4 separate regions of the Homo sapiens genome follow, and regions 1, 3 and 4 are each linked to region 2. The links are contacts of gene promoters, found by promoter capture Hi-C in blood cells and fetal thymus (Javierre and others, 2016). All regions are on one chromosome and are shown on one strand. The core of a region is centred on a gene start or on the middle of the fragment in contact, and the rest is flanking DNA. Distances in the headings are between cores, read along the strand shown. Region 1 has its middle 1.8 kb from the start of SATB2-AS1. Region 2 holds the start of PLCL1 (phospholipase C like 1 (inactive)). Region 3 has its middle 21 kb from the start of SATB2-AS1. Region 4 overlaps SATB2 (SATB homeobox 2).

Region 1 (2,707 bases), core at 182-2,681, 1.7 Mb after region 2:
CTCAGAGAAATTTTACGAGGGGAACTTTTCCTTTTAGTATCAATAAAGCCTAGTAATTGGGTTTGTTGGTTACCTAAGCTCGAGTTCGACTTTCTCAGTCTCTCTCTCTCTCTCTCTTTCTCATTCAGAGGCAACGTTTTCAAAAACCGGCAATTGCGTGTGCGTTTGGGGTGTGCAAGTGTGAGTGTAGATGTGTGAAAGTTATTTGTTTCAGCAGTCCTTGTCTCGAGAGCAATCATCATTGTAGCTTTGAGTGAAGAGTTTTCAAAGGTGAACTGTTGTTATTTCTGTCAACAGAAAACTGTTGACAACCATTCAAGTCTCACAATACAAGTATAATATAAGGGAGGGTGGAATATCTAAAGACTGTCCCGTTGGATATGACAGAAAGACATCTGCAGTGTTTCCCTAATAGTTTGCATTTTAATTAACTTTCATTACATTCTGACTTCCACTCAATATCCGTTGTTTTCAGTAAAGACTTCTATATGATAAAACGTTGTAATTTTTGTTCTGGTTTTCCAATCTTCTTGAAAACCAGTTCTTAATTGTAAGGAATTTTTCCACCTGGGAACCATGCCGTAATTTAAAAATATAAAAGACCTTTCATGAACAATAACTGCAAATAACCCATTTGTTAGTGTCTGCGGAGTTGCTGGCACCTATACAAAGTCTCTGAAATATAAAGGCAATCTAAGAATGTTTCTCTCCAACCATAGTGATATATACTTTTTTCGTTTTTGTTGTGTGGAAGTTAAAAACACTTTTAAAGTTACTTTTTAGAAAAGTGTTGTGCTAAAATTTACCTGAACTTAAATTCCTTATCAATGTTAGCCTAACGAAATGAAGAGTATTTCTGAATCAGATTATTGTTAGAGTCATATGCTAAATAGTAAAGGAAAAGAAATGGGAATTAAAGTTTGCAAACCAAGACCAGGGAAAAGTCGGCTCCAGAAGTTACCAGGAACCCACCCAAACCTGTGCACTCATATCTCCTGTATTTACATATTATAGACAACTTTTCCTTTCCACTTTTAGCTAGAAAAGTGGTGGGCTCCCCTTAGTTCGTCTCGTTTTATGCTGTAAGACCCAAAGTCTGCTGAGGGCTGCCCCTGCCAGGTAACTTCCGGAGACCCGGAGTTACTTGGAGACAGACCCGGCCCTTTGCACATTCCAAGTGAAGGACGTCTCGCGCATTCTTCCCAGAGCTACCACACACCTAACCTCTTCTGGACACCCAACAGCTGGGGCACTGGAGCACCTGACCCTACTCAAGATCATCCCCCAGCCCTTGCCGGCACTTAGGGACAGCAGAATCTGAGCTGTGGGTGTACATACTCCCCATTTTCTGCTTTCCCAGAGGATCACAGACAACTTTTCTTCCCATCTGCTCCCGCTGGACTCCTATGATCACCCATCATCCCCAGTTGTTGCTATCTCTGAGCTCTTGGTGACCAGCCCTTGTCCCCCAAGCTGACCAAGTTGAGAGAGTACTTGTCCTCCCAGCACTGTCTCTCAGTATCAGGAAGTTGAGATCAGTGGCAGGGAAAGATGGAAGGATTGGCAAGGAAAGTGCAGGGCCAAGTAGAGTAGCTCAGAGCCTCAGCAATGGGCACCTGTCCTCCCCCAAACAACCTGTGGTCTCTCCGGCTCCCTGCTTTTCCACCATTGGTCCCATCCTGGGCTACCAGCCTCCACTGAGCTGCTCTGGGAACTTAGGGTGTCTCACATTACTTCCCTGCTATGGCATATTTTGGTTTCAGTTGAGCTATTTTCTGAAGATGTGGATACTCCAGTTTTATTCTTTTTCTGTCTGTGTCTCAGTACTCTTTTCCTTTTTTAAGAATGTTCCCCAAGCCTGGCTTTTGCCAGACCCTGTGCCATCTCCCCAAGCTCTATTTACAAGAACAAGAAGTGATTTGTCTGTTTATAGCAGGTTTAATTAAGACAGTTATGCGCCGTGAACTCTTTGGGCCTCAATCAATGCACTTAGATTTGGAAACTCAGATAGAATCACATCTTACACGTGCGGCCCCGGCTGGCCGCCCAGGCTGAGGACAGAGCTATTGTTTTCTACATCAGCCTCACTGGAACTGGGCAAGTCCCCTGCAGAACTGGCACCCCCTGCTCCTCCCAAGAGACCTCAAGTCAGGTCTCCCGGCCAGACTCAGGCCTTTCTAATACAGGCGTGAAGGGCGGGACGCCCAGAGCCCTCTTGTTGGCCGGTGGCTAAGGAGCCAGGTGGATAACTTCTGCGGATTCGGCTTTCAGGCTGCTGGAGCTCTCCCCAGCCCGAGGCCTTAGCCCAGCGCAATCCCTTGTCCAGACCGGCCAGTTTCCGCGTGGCGAAAAAGGGGGAGGCAAGTGTGTCTTTTCCAAGGAGCTTTTATCCAACAGCCTCCCCTCCCCCCAACTCTCAGCCTTAGGTGCCGGGCTTCAGCCGAAGCGTTTTTCAAATTTGTCATCATTGGAAACCTCGGACAAGTGGAGTGTAAAATTTTGAGGGTTTCCAGGTAGGCTCTGACTTCAGGCATTCAATGAAAGGGGAAGAGGGCTGAGGGCGGGGGAGAGAGACAAGCACAGAGGGCTCCCTGTAGTCGGCAGGAATTCCCTCCCTCTGCAGCCCAGCTGCACCCACTAGCACACACTAGTCTTGCCTTCTCCCGGCTTTGGAAGAATCCCCACCACATTCTTTAGCTCTCAGAAA
Region 2 (2,843 bases), core at 197-2,696:
GCAGTTCTCAGAATCTCACTAGAGGGTGGTGTTGGTTCTAAAACCAGAGGTCACTGCTACTCTCTACAGTACATTCATTACTAGGCTGCATTTATGTTTAAAGAAAAGGCAAAGTCAAGCCTTCTCAGTATTCCCTAGTAGTTGATAAATGTCAAATCTGAAACCTCCCAAGTGCCCCTGCCAGTTCTGGCTGGTTGTAGCCCAGAGGAGACAGATAAAGTAGTGAAGAGATTATCGGAGGAGTTGGGTGGCTGATTCTAATTTTGGCTCCTGCACTAACTAGTAGACAAGACTCCCTGGGCCTTTGTCTCAACCGTAAAACAAAAATGATGTCCTAGTTGATCCCTAAATCCCCATATATCTCTAAAATTATGAGATTCAAACCAAATTGTTGGTCTAAAATGCTGAATAATTTCTCATGCTGTTAGCCAGACTAAGGAACAAGTAAAATCTCAAATTATTAAATTATTAATAAGATAAAATGTAATGTTATAAGTGAGGTTTAATATAGATTCTAATATCAAAGGAGTTTAAAATTAAAATGCCAAGTCTTTTGTCTTACCAGGGAGCCTTAGGACCATGGTTTGCATCTGAGCATTCTGTGGATAATTTCAGTGACTTAACTCATCATCCAAAGATCTCTCCCTTCTTGGTTGCTAGCTTACTGGAAATGAGCAAAATATGTTTTTATATAGGATTATATAGAGAAAGGAGGCTGAACCATTGTCAAATAGGAATGTTTTAGGATAGAGACTAAACTCCCCACCTGCATTTATCTGACTTGGATTATATCTGTGCTTTTTAAGAGTCAGTCTTCGGAGGGATTTAGTTGGTTCAGTTTCCTTTCACCCTCATCTCTTTCACTGACTCCCTTTCCTTGTTATATTTACTCACACTGCAGAATGACCTTAGAATCCTTTCCTGGAACCTGAAGCAAATTATGGAACCCCAAGATCCCAGTAAACCCTAGTTTATCTCTGCATGGACTTGACTTCTAAGAATTGGCCTGAGAGCCTGCAATTAACCTGTGACCACGCAAAGCTTCACCCCGTCACCCCAAACGCTTAGACATTCATACTCAATACCCACTTTCCTCCAAATTGCTTTGTTTGGCAGAAGAAGGTTTCTTTCTCCCCTCTCCTTCACCCAACCTGGATTTTTGTTGCATCTCAGGCTCATTTCGCAAATCTAAACTTCCTAAAATATACACGGAGCGCCTCCGGGTTTGCACACGCGCGCGCGCGGGTACACCCTGGCTCGAGTACATTAGCCCCGCTGGGCCGGCTCCCAGTTGCAGAACACATTCCATTCTTCGCGCTCGGGCACACCCCTCCGCAGTGAGGATTGGTCGGGCCGAGCCCCCTCGGCGAGGCGAGGCTCCTAAGAGGCCCAGACGCCTGCCAATCCCCAAGGGCTGTCAAAACAAGTCTCCCTCCCTGTCACAACAGAGCTGAGTGGAGGCCGCCGCCGCCGCCGCACTTCCTGGGACCGCTGCGCCGCAGTCCGCGGGCAGGTGGCGGGTGCGCCCGGCCGCAGTCGCCCGGCTCTGGCCCCTATCGGGCCGCCGGCGTCCGGGCTCCAGAGGCCGCCTGGCTGGGCGCCCGGTGCCTTTTGTCTGGCGCAGGGCCGGCGTTTGCATCACATTTCGGATACCTCCCTCTCTTTTTCGCCTCTCCTTCTGCCTCCCGCTCACATCGCCTCCCCACTCCCGCCACCGTCCCCCGCCGGACTGCTAGCCTCCTAGACCGAAGCCCGAGGACGTCTCTGCCCGAGCGATGTCCCCTCTCCAGAAAGTTGCCGCCGCCGCCGCCGCCGCCGCCACTGCCGCCGCTGGGCGGTGAAACAAAGTCTGGCGGGGCCGCCTCCCGGTGCAGGAGCGCACCGGTGCCTAGCGGCTGGACTCCGCTGCCGGGCGTCCCGCTTTCCCCCGGGGAGCCCTAAACGCTCCAGGCCATGGCCGAGGGCGCGGCCGGCAGGGAGGATCCGGCGCCGCCCGACGCGGCGGGGGGCGAAGACGACCCCCGAGTGGGCCCGGATGCCGCCGGGGACTGCGTGACGGCGGCCTCTGGGGGCCGGATGAGGGACCGTCGCAGCGGGGTCGCACTGCCAGGCGCCGCGGGGACCCCAGCGGACAGCGAGGCGGGCCTCCTGGAGGCAGCACGGGCGACCCCCCGGCGCAGCAGCATCATCAAGGTAAGCAAAGCCGCGCCGCACCGGGAGCGTGGCTGTGGGTGATGGGTGGGTCAGGGACCCGGGCAGGATGTGCGGTGTCCGGAGGCATCCGGGCTCAGCATTGTTTTCTCCCACCTCCTTCAACGCCAAACCTTCCTTCCTTATCCGGAGGTTCCCAGACTCAGCTGTCAGCCACGAGACGCACAAGTGACTTTTTCTCCCCACTGACGGCAGAGGAAAAGTTCCGCTCTGCGTCTTTGCGTTCTGATGGATGCTTTCCCTCATTTTCTCTGCAAGCTTCACTAAACCGTTGATGGAGGGAGGAAGGGAGAACTCTGGATAAATGCAGACCCACCGGATGGTTGTGCATTGCTTTCCAATGAAGGGTTAGCTTTTCCCATACAATGAAGAAAATGCACAGCTTACTCTCAAGTGTAAAAAAAGAATCCCTCTAGACTTAAATGATCCCGAAATCCCAAGATGTGTGAACTTTCCCGGTAGGGAGGCAGAGTTTTAAGTGGACCCTGCATCACAGTAAAGAGCAATGCAAGAGCCCAGAGTTTTTGCGCTGCAGAAAGCACAACCGGAAAGCAATCAATCCCCCAAGCATTATCACTGGTCCTTGTGGTTACCACCACATCCAGGGAAAACGCTTCCTGACCCGCTAATCA
Region 3 (2,879 bases), core at 349-2,848, 1.7 Mb after region 2:
TAATCTTGGCTCACTGCAACCTCCACCTCCTCCCAGGTTCAAGTGATTTTCTTGCCTCAGCCTCCCGAGTATCTGTGACTACAGGCATGTGCAACCATGCCCAGCTAATTTTTGTATTTTTTAGTAGAGACGGGGTTTCACCATGTTGGCCAGGCTGGTCTCAAACTCCTGACCTCAGGTGATCTGCCTGCCTCAGCCTCCCAAAGTGCTGGGATTACAGGCATGAGCCACCATGCCTGGCCTGCATCTTCTTGAGTAGGGACAGTGCAGTGGCCAAGACAAGGGATAACTGCAGGATCTGGCCATTTAAGGATGACAGAGTTAGTGAATGTAATCACCTCAAGTGTTTCTTGGCTCTGAATTTAATTCAACAAGCATGTGTTGAGTACTTACCAAGTATCCTGCTAGACAGAGAAAACCCTGAAAATAGGGACCAGCTCTTCCTCATCTCCGTATGGCCAATGTCTCAACTGGTGAGTTTATACAATTTCAGCCAAAAGCAAAAGACAGTTGATGTTTTCTTTTTCTGTGCAGTTTTATTTCAGAGAAGTAAACATATGACATTTGAGAGACTTTCTCAAATGCTGAAATCCACTGGTGTACCTTTATGGCTCCCTTGGAACTCTCCTGGATGTGTGGGTGAGAACTATAGAATGAAGAACACAAGTCAACCTCCATTGTCTGGCAAAGGGAGAAACTGAAGTCACTACATCTTGGATATATCTATAAAGAGATGTTAACAATCAGGTACTTTTCATGGGGATAAGGGTAAGGAGTAGTCAGGCAATTCATATAATTTTAACAGAGTTTAGTCCACTTCACTTTTAAAGGCTCCAGGCAGAGCTCCAGGCTGCAGAAAAGGAAGACCACCAACAATCTCCAAGCAAGGGAACCTTCAGGGTTTTGTGGCCCAAATGGCCAAAGGGAATATTTGTACTCTTAGAAATGCATCTCAAGCTTTTAAGGCTTGCAAACTGCCAAACTCTGTGGATCATTTTGTAAACTACAAAATCACCAGCTTAAAAAAACAACATAATTTAGCCAGGTCAATCCATAAAGTATCCCACACAGTACTTATTACAGAGAAACCTTGAACAAAAAACTCCCTGGCCTGGGACATTTCCCAGGGAATCACAAACTTCTTTGGAAAACAGAAACGTCTGGTTGTCCCATACATGGCCCGTGTGAAGAGTGCCCAGTCAGGGATGGATGGTGTTCCAAAGGTTCCTGTGTAAGTCCATTGTTGGAAACCCTGAATGCATTTTATAAACAAATAAATTTTATAAATAAATAAATAGCTGGTCCCTATTTTCAGGGTTTTCTCTGTCTAGCAGGATACTTGGTAAGTACTCAACACGAGCTTGTTGAATTAAATTCAGAGCCAAGAAACACTTGAGGTGATTACATTCACTAATTCTGTCATCCTTCATAGAAACACTATTGTTGATTAGGCTCCCAGCCTATCCTGACAGTACTGATTAACCCAAAGTGCTGCTGAAATACAGTACTTTCATGATGAAATGTAGCAGGATGCTATGTCATTGCTAAGAATTAAGCACTAGAGGAAAACAAGTACATTAAAAAAGAGCTTGATACTCAGAATGAAAGCTGCATCAAGAGGGAGATCCTTTACATTGCCTGCCGCCTCATCCCCACAACAGGGAGCCTGTGACCCACAGCCCCTGCCCTATCAACCCACCAAATGAATTGGGTCTGTTGCCCTCTAAGTTCTCGCTGTCTTCCATGGGCTCTCTCAGAAGACTGAAGAAAGAATTTCTCCCCTAGTTTTTGCCACTGGCCACATGCAGTTCTCTCCTCAATACTGCCCCCTCCTGGGGAAGGGAGCTCCGTCCCCAAACTGTTGTCCTGGTTAAAGCTGCCTTCTTCCTAAACGAGGAGCAGAAGGCAATCCTCCTTAGAAAGACACCCAAAATAAAGAGGAGAAAAAGAAAGACCTTAAGTTATTTTTTAGGTGAATCTTTTCTCTGAATACAGTAAGGAGAAACCAAGAGGGTTGGTGTTGGTCCCTCACTTAGGGAGGAAAGCAGATTGGGGAAAGAATTAAAGAGAATTCCAACAATGAAACATTTATGAATACTAAATGTAATATTAATGAAATTGACACAATGATAAATTTTGTAGGGATTTAATAAATCTGTGTTAACTTTAGCGTTCTCTAGGTTTTATATATTGAAGGGAACAATTTTTCCAGATCTCGAACTTTTTAGCAGGCCCCAGAAAAGCTTTACTTACTTTTTTTGTTTGTTTGTTTGTTTTTATTTTGAGACAGGGTCTTGCTCTGTCACCCAGGCTGGAGTGCAGTGGTGTGCTGGCTAATTTTTAATTTTTTTGGAGAGGTGGGGTCTTGCTAGGTTGCCCAGCTTCCCAAAGAGCTTGCTCTCTCTCTCTCTCTCTCTCTCTCTCTCTCTCTCTCTCTTTCTTTCTTTCTTGAGACTGGGTCTCACTCTGTCACCCAGGCTGGAATGCAGTGACACAATTATGGCTCACTGCAGTCTTGACATTCCAGGCTCAAGTGATCCCTCCACCTCAGTTCCCCAAGTAGTTGGGACCACAGGCAGGCACCACCACACTTGGCTAATTTTTTAATTTTTTGTAGAGATGAGGTCTCCCTATGTTGCCCAGGCTGATCTCCAACTCCTGGGCTCAAGCGATTCTCCTGCCTCAGCCTCCCAAAATGCTGGTGTTACTGGCGTGAGCCACCACAACTGGCTCAGAAAAGCTTTAAAAGCTTAAAGAACTGTGCCTGTGGCCAAGTATTCCTAGCTTTCTGAGATACAGCATAATTATCAGAGGCACTGGTGGGTTTGTTTCTGGATTAATGTTAGCCTTAGGATGGATCCTGTCAAGAAATAACTTAC
Region 4 (2,802 bases), core at 152-2,651, 1.6 Mb after region 2:
AGGTTTTCCTGTCCTATGTGTCATAATCATTAATAAAGAATATGCTTACTATAAAACTGACATAGTTTGCTGATAACTTTATTGCAAGTTTCAAATTCTTAAAATTTCTATTCATGCTTTTATCTGCATTTTAGGCATTTGTCAAACTAATAACCATAACATCCACTTGTTTAAGTTAAAGGACATCAATTAAAAAGGGGAAAAAAAATGCATGCCATAAACTCTATTGTCATAATTATATATCTAAAGCACACTTGTTCCATATTATGTCTTTTTATCTAGTTTTTTAAAAATCTGAAATAAGTAAAACTTTTTAATTGAGCAGCAAAGATACAGAAGTTGTAGAATGCAATTTCTGATGTAGCCTTTCAGTGCCACTTAATTATACTGATTTTACCACAATTCTTAAATCACTTGCTACTAAAAAGCAAAATAATTCTGTTAATTGAAACAAATATATATAGCTAGAGTTCCATAATTTTGAAAACTCCACCATGGAACATTTTTACAAAAACACTGTAGCATGTTATGCTTACAGGGCTTGTTTCTACATAAAAGAAGAAAAATAATGTTTGGTTAATTGCTAACAATAAAGAGCAACGGAAAATAGCATACTATAATGACTACAACTGTGCTTTTTTCAAACTCTGTAAGTCCTCAACTGGTTTTTGTTTTAGTCATACCTCAGTTCCACTCAGGGCATCTACTTTGACTTTGAAATATTTATCACATTACATTTAAGTAGTAGGATGATGAATCTTTTGTATATAAAAATCCATTTTCACCACAGACATTTTCAAAACCTCTATTGCATTTTAAAATAACAGGAATTCACAGCTCTCCTTACTGGCACCCTAAATTAATGCTGGAGAGCAGTGTTGATTGGAAGTGAAAAAAGACCATACAATCAAAGTCAGTAGAGGCAAATCATTCATTTAAAAATTGCTACAAAGAAAAGAATAGAAACTAAAAGGCAAACTCTTTTCTTCATTTTTTTGAGTTAAGCATAAAGGTCTCCTACTCGAAACCATTTTAGGTTATTTCTCTGTTTTTTCCAAAAAATAATGAGTTAAAATGTATGGGTTAGATCCAACATTTCACTGCTGTTCTTATTCTTGGGGAGTGGGGGAGACGGGGAACTTGCTGCCAAAGCTTCTGAAAAGAGACTTTGGGCTGCTAATTTTCCGTTCACAAAATCTAAATTCCCCTTATGCATTCTCACACAACTCATGAAATAATATGAAACAGTATTATATCACTGCAAATTGAGACATTTTTATCAAAATAAAGAGTGATGATGCCAACATTTCATTTGTCATTTCCCACTTGTCACTTTTCACTGACAAACTGTTACACATACAACTTTTGTCAAATGCTCCATCTTTAAATATGTTCCAAAATGCCATTGTATCTCAGTATTCATGTAAGGAAGATAGTAAAAATTACTATGTTACCATATATTAGTTATATAGGTTTTTTAAAAGCCTACTGATTAAACAATATAAAGAATTCTTTATTAATTTACATGCTATATAGGATAAAGTTTGGCTTTCTGAAATAAAACAATGTACATATTTTACACACCTAATGTGGGTTCTTAGTCATAAGAAACATTTTAATGGTGAGAAATTTTATTCCAACAGAAACCTAAAAAGCTTTAAAAGATAAGTATAACCCAAGAAAATAATACTATTTGGAATTCATCTAGCCCTGTAAATTTAACATGTCTTTTTAAATATATACACATATGCTGATTCTATAATAAATACTTTTTAAAAAGAAAGAAAAATAGGGGTTTTAAATTATAACCATCAAACTTCACTGCTTACTACTTTGTCAGATATACCAAATAATTACTGTAGTCTTTCCTGGAATAAAACTGATTTCCGTATACTTAAAATGACTCAAATTCATATTCTTAGCTATCTAATAAATGATGATTAGTCTGTTTTCCCTTCTCTACAGAGATAGATTGGTTAAAACAAAATTCAAGAAAGAAAAGAAGAATTCAAACAGGATATCTCATATGTACAGACTTTGCTGGTTACAACCCTCTGGGAAAGGATGATATTGCTTATTTTCTGCAGGGGTTAAAAAACAGATGCCTTAAGGGACATCTATGTAGTTCCAACACACACACACACACACACACACACACACACACACACACACTGCACTACAGATGATCTTGAGTATACAATGGTCAGTGGGTTTCTTCTGATGGAACATAAGGCTTCCAAAATTACTTGAAACATCAAATTATGCTCAGGACTTTGAGGGGCGGATACCCTATGTTCTGTTTAATGTGTATGTTCCACTGCATATATTTTTTTAACCAAGTATATCTTTATTTTAATAACAGGCCAAGAACTAAAAACACTTTAGAGAAGAGTTATTTTTCTACCTCAGCAAAACTACAGAGGACAGGCTAGATTGTTGGATGACCCCAAAGCCTAAGTTCATTCTATTTAAAAGATCTTAAAACCTTAAAAAAAAAAAAAAAAAGTGAGGAGGGAGAAATACAATCTTTTCTCTTTTGAAGTAATGTGTACTTCCTACAAATATTATGATATTCATCCTTGGGAATGGAGTTTTCTCCATTTTGCCCATGTTAACAATATATTTCTAAGTATTTTATAATCTCAATATATACCTATCTATACTTTCATATCTGCATTCCTTTCAAAAAGTTAAATGTCTCTCTACTGTTGCTGATATGGTGACTACACCTGACCCGAACTGCATTTCTTTTCATCTAAAAGGAAGTGTTCCACATGTAGACAATTAAACTAACTGTTGTTG

The links. Contacts are between HindIII fragments. The CHiCAGO score rates a contact against its expected background, and 5 or more counts as called.
Region 1: a fragment that was not itself captured here is called in contact with the fragment with the promoter of PLCL1 in region 2 in 5 of 17 cell types (M0 macrophages, megakaryocytes, fetal thymus and 2 more); the score reaches 16.2 in M0 macrophages.
Region 3: a fragment that was not itself captured here is called in contact with the fragment with the promoter of PLCL1 in region 2 in 2 of 17 cell types (megakaryocytes and M0 macrophages); the score reaches 5.3 in megakaryocytes.
Region 4: a contact is called between a fragment that was not itself captured here and the fragment with the promoter of PLCL1 in region 2, in 1 of 17 cell types (M0 macrophages). The highest score is 6.0, in M0 macrophages.

Annotation. Positions count from the first base shown.
Region 1 is chr2:199,464,993-199,467,699 of GRCh38, forward strand. It overlaps a transcript of SATB2 not described here. Among named protein-coding and RNA genes, the nearest start is that of SATB2-AS1, 1.8 kb to the right of the region's middle. The HindIII fragment of the contact is 8,458 bases long and covers 1-2,707 here.
Region 2 is chr2:197,803,147-197,805,989 of GRCh38, forward strand. PLCL1 (phospholipase C like 1 (inactive)) reads left to right here and starts at 1,447. Exons shown (of 6, transcript NM_006226.4): 1 at 1,447-2,193. The coding sequence starts at 1,954. It overlaps LOC105373828 (a long non-coding RNA gene), which reads right to left and starts at 1,400. Exons shown (of 4, transcript XR_001739850.3): 1 at 563-1,400. RefSeq lists a silencer at 1,494-1,623. The HindIII fragment of the contact is 1,428 bases long and covers 1,040-2,467 here.
Region 3 is chr2:199,487,161-199,490,039 of GRCh38, forward strand. No RefSeq gene overlaps it. Among named protein-coding and RNA genes, the nearest start is that of SATB2-AS1, 21 kb to the left of the region's middle. The HindIII fragment of the contact is 1,286 bases long and covers 956-2,241 here.
Region 4 is chr2:199,448,962-199,451,763 of GRCh38, forward strand. The region is part of intron 2 of SATB2 (SATB homeobox 2); the gene reads right to left. Among named protein-coding and RNA genes, the nearest start is that of SATB2, 7.6 kb to the right of the region's middle. The HindIII fragment of the contact is 503 bases long and covers 1,151-1,653 here.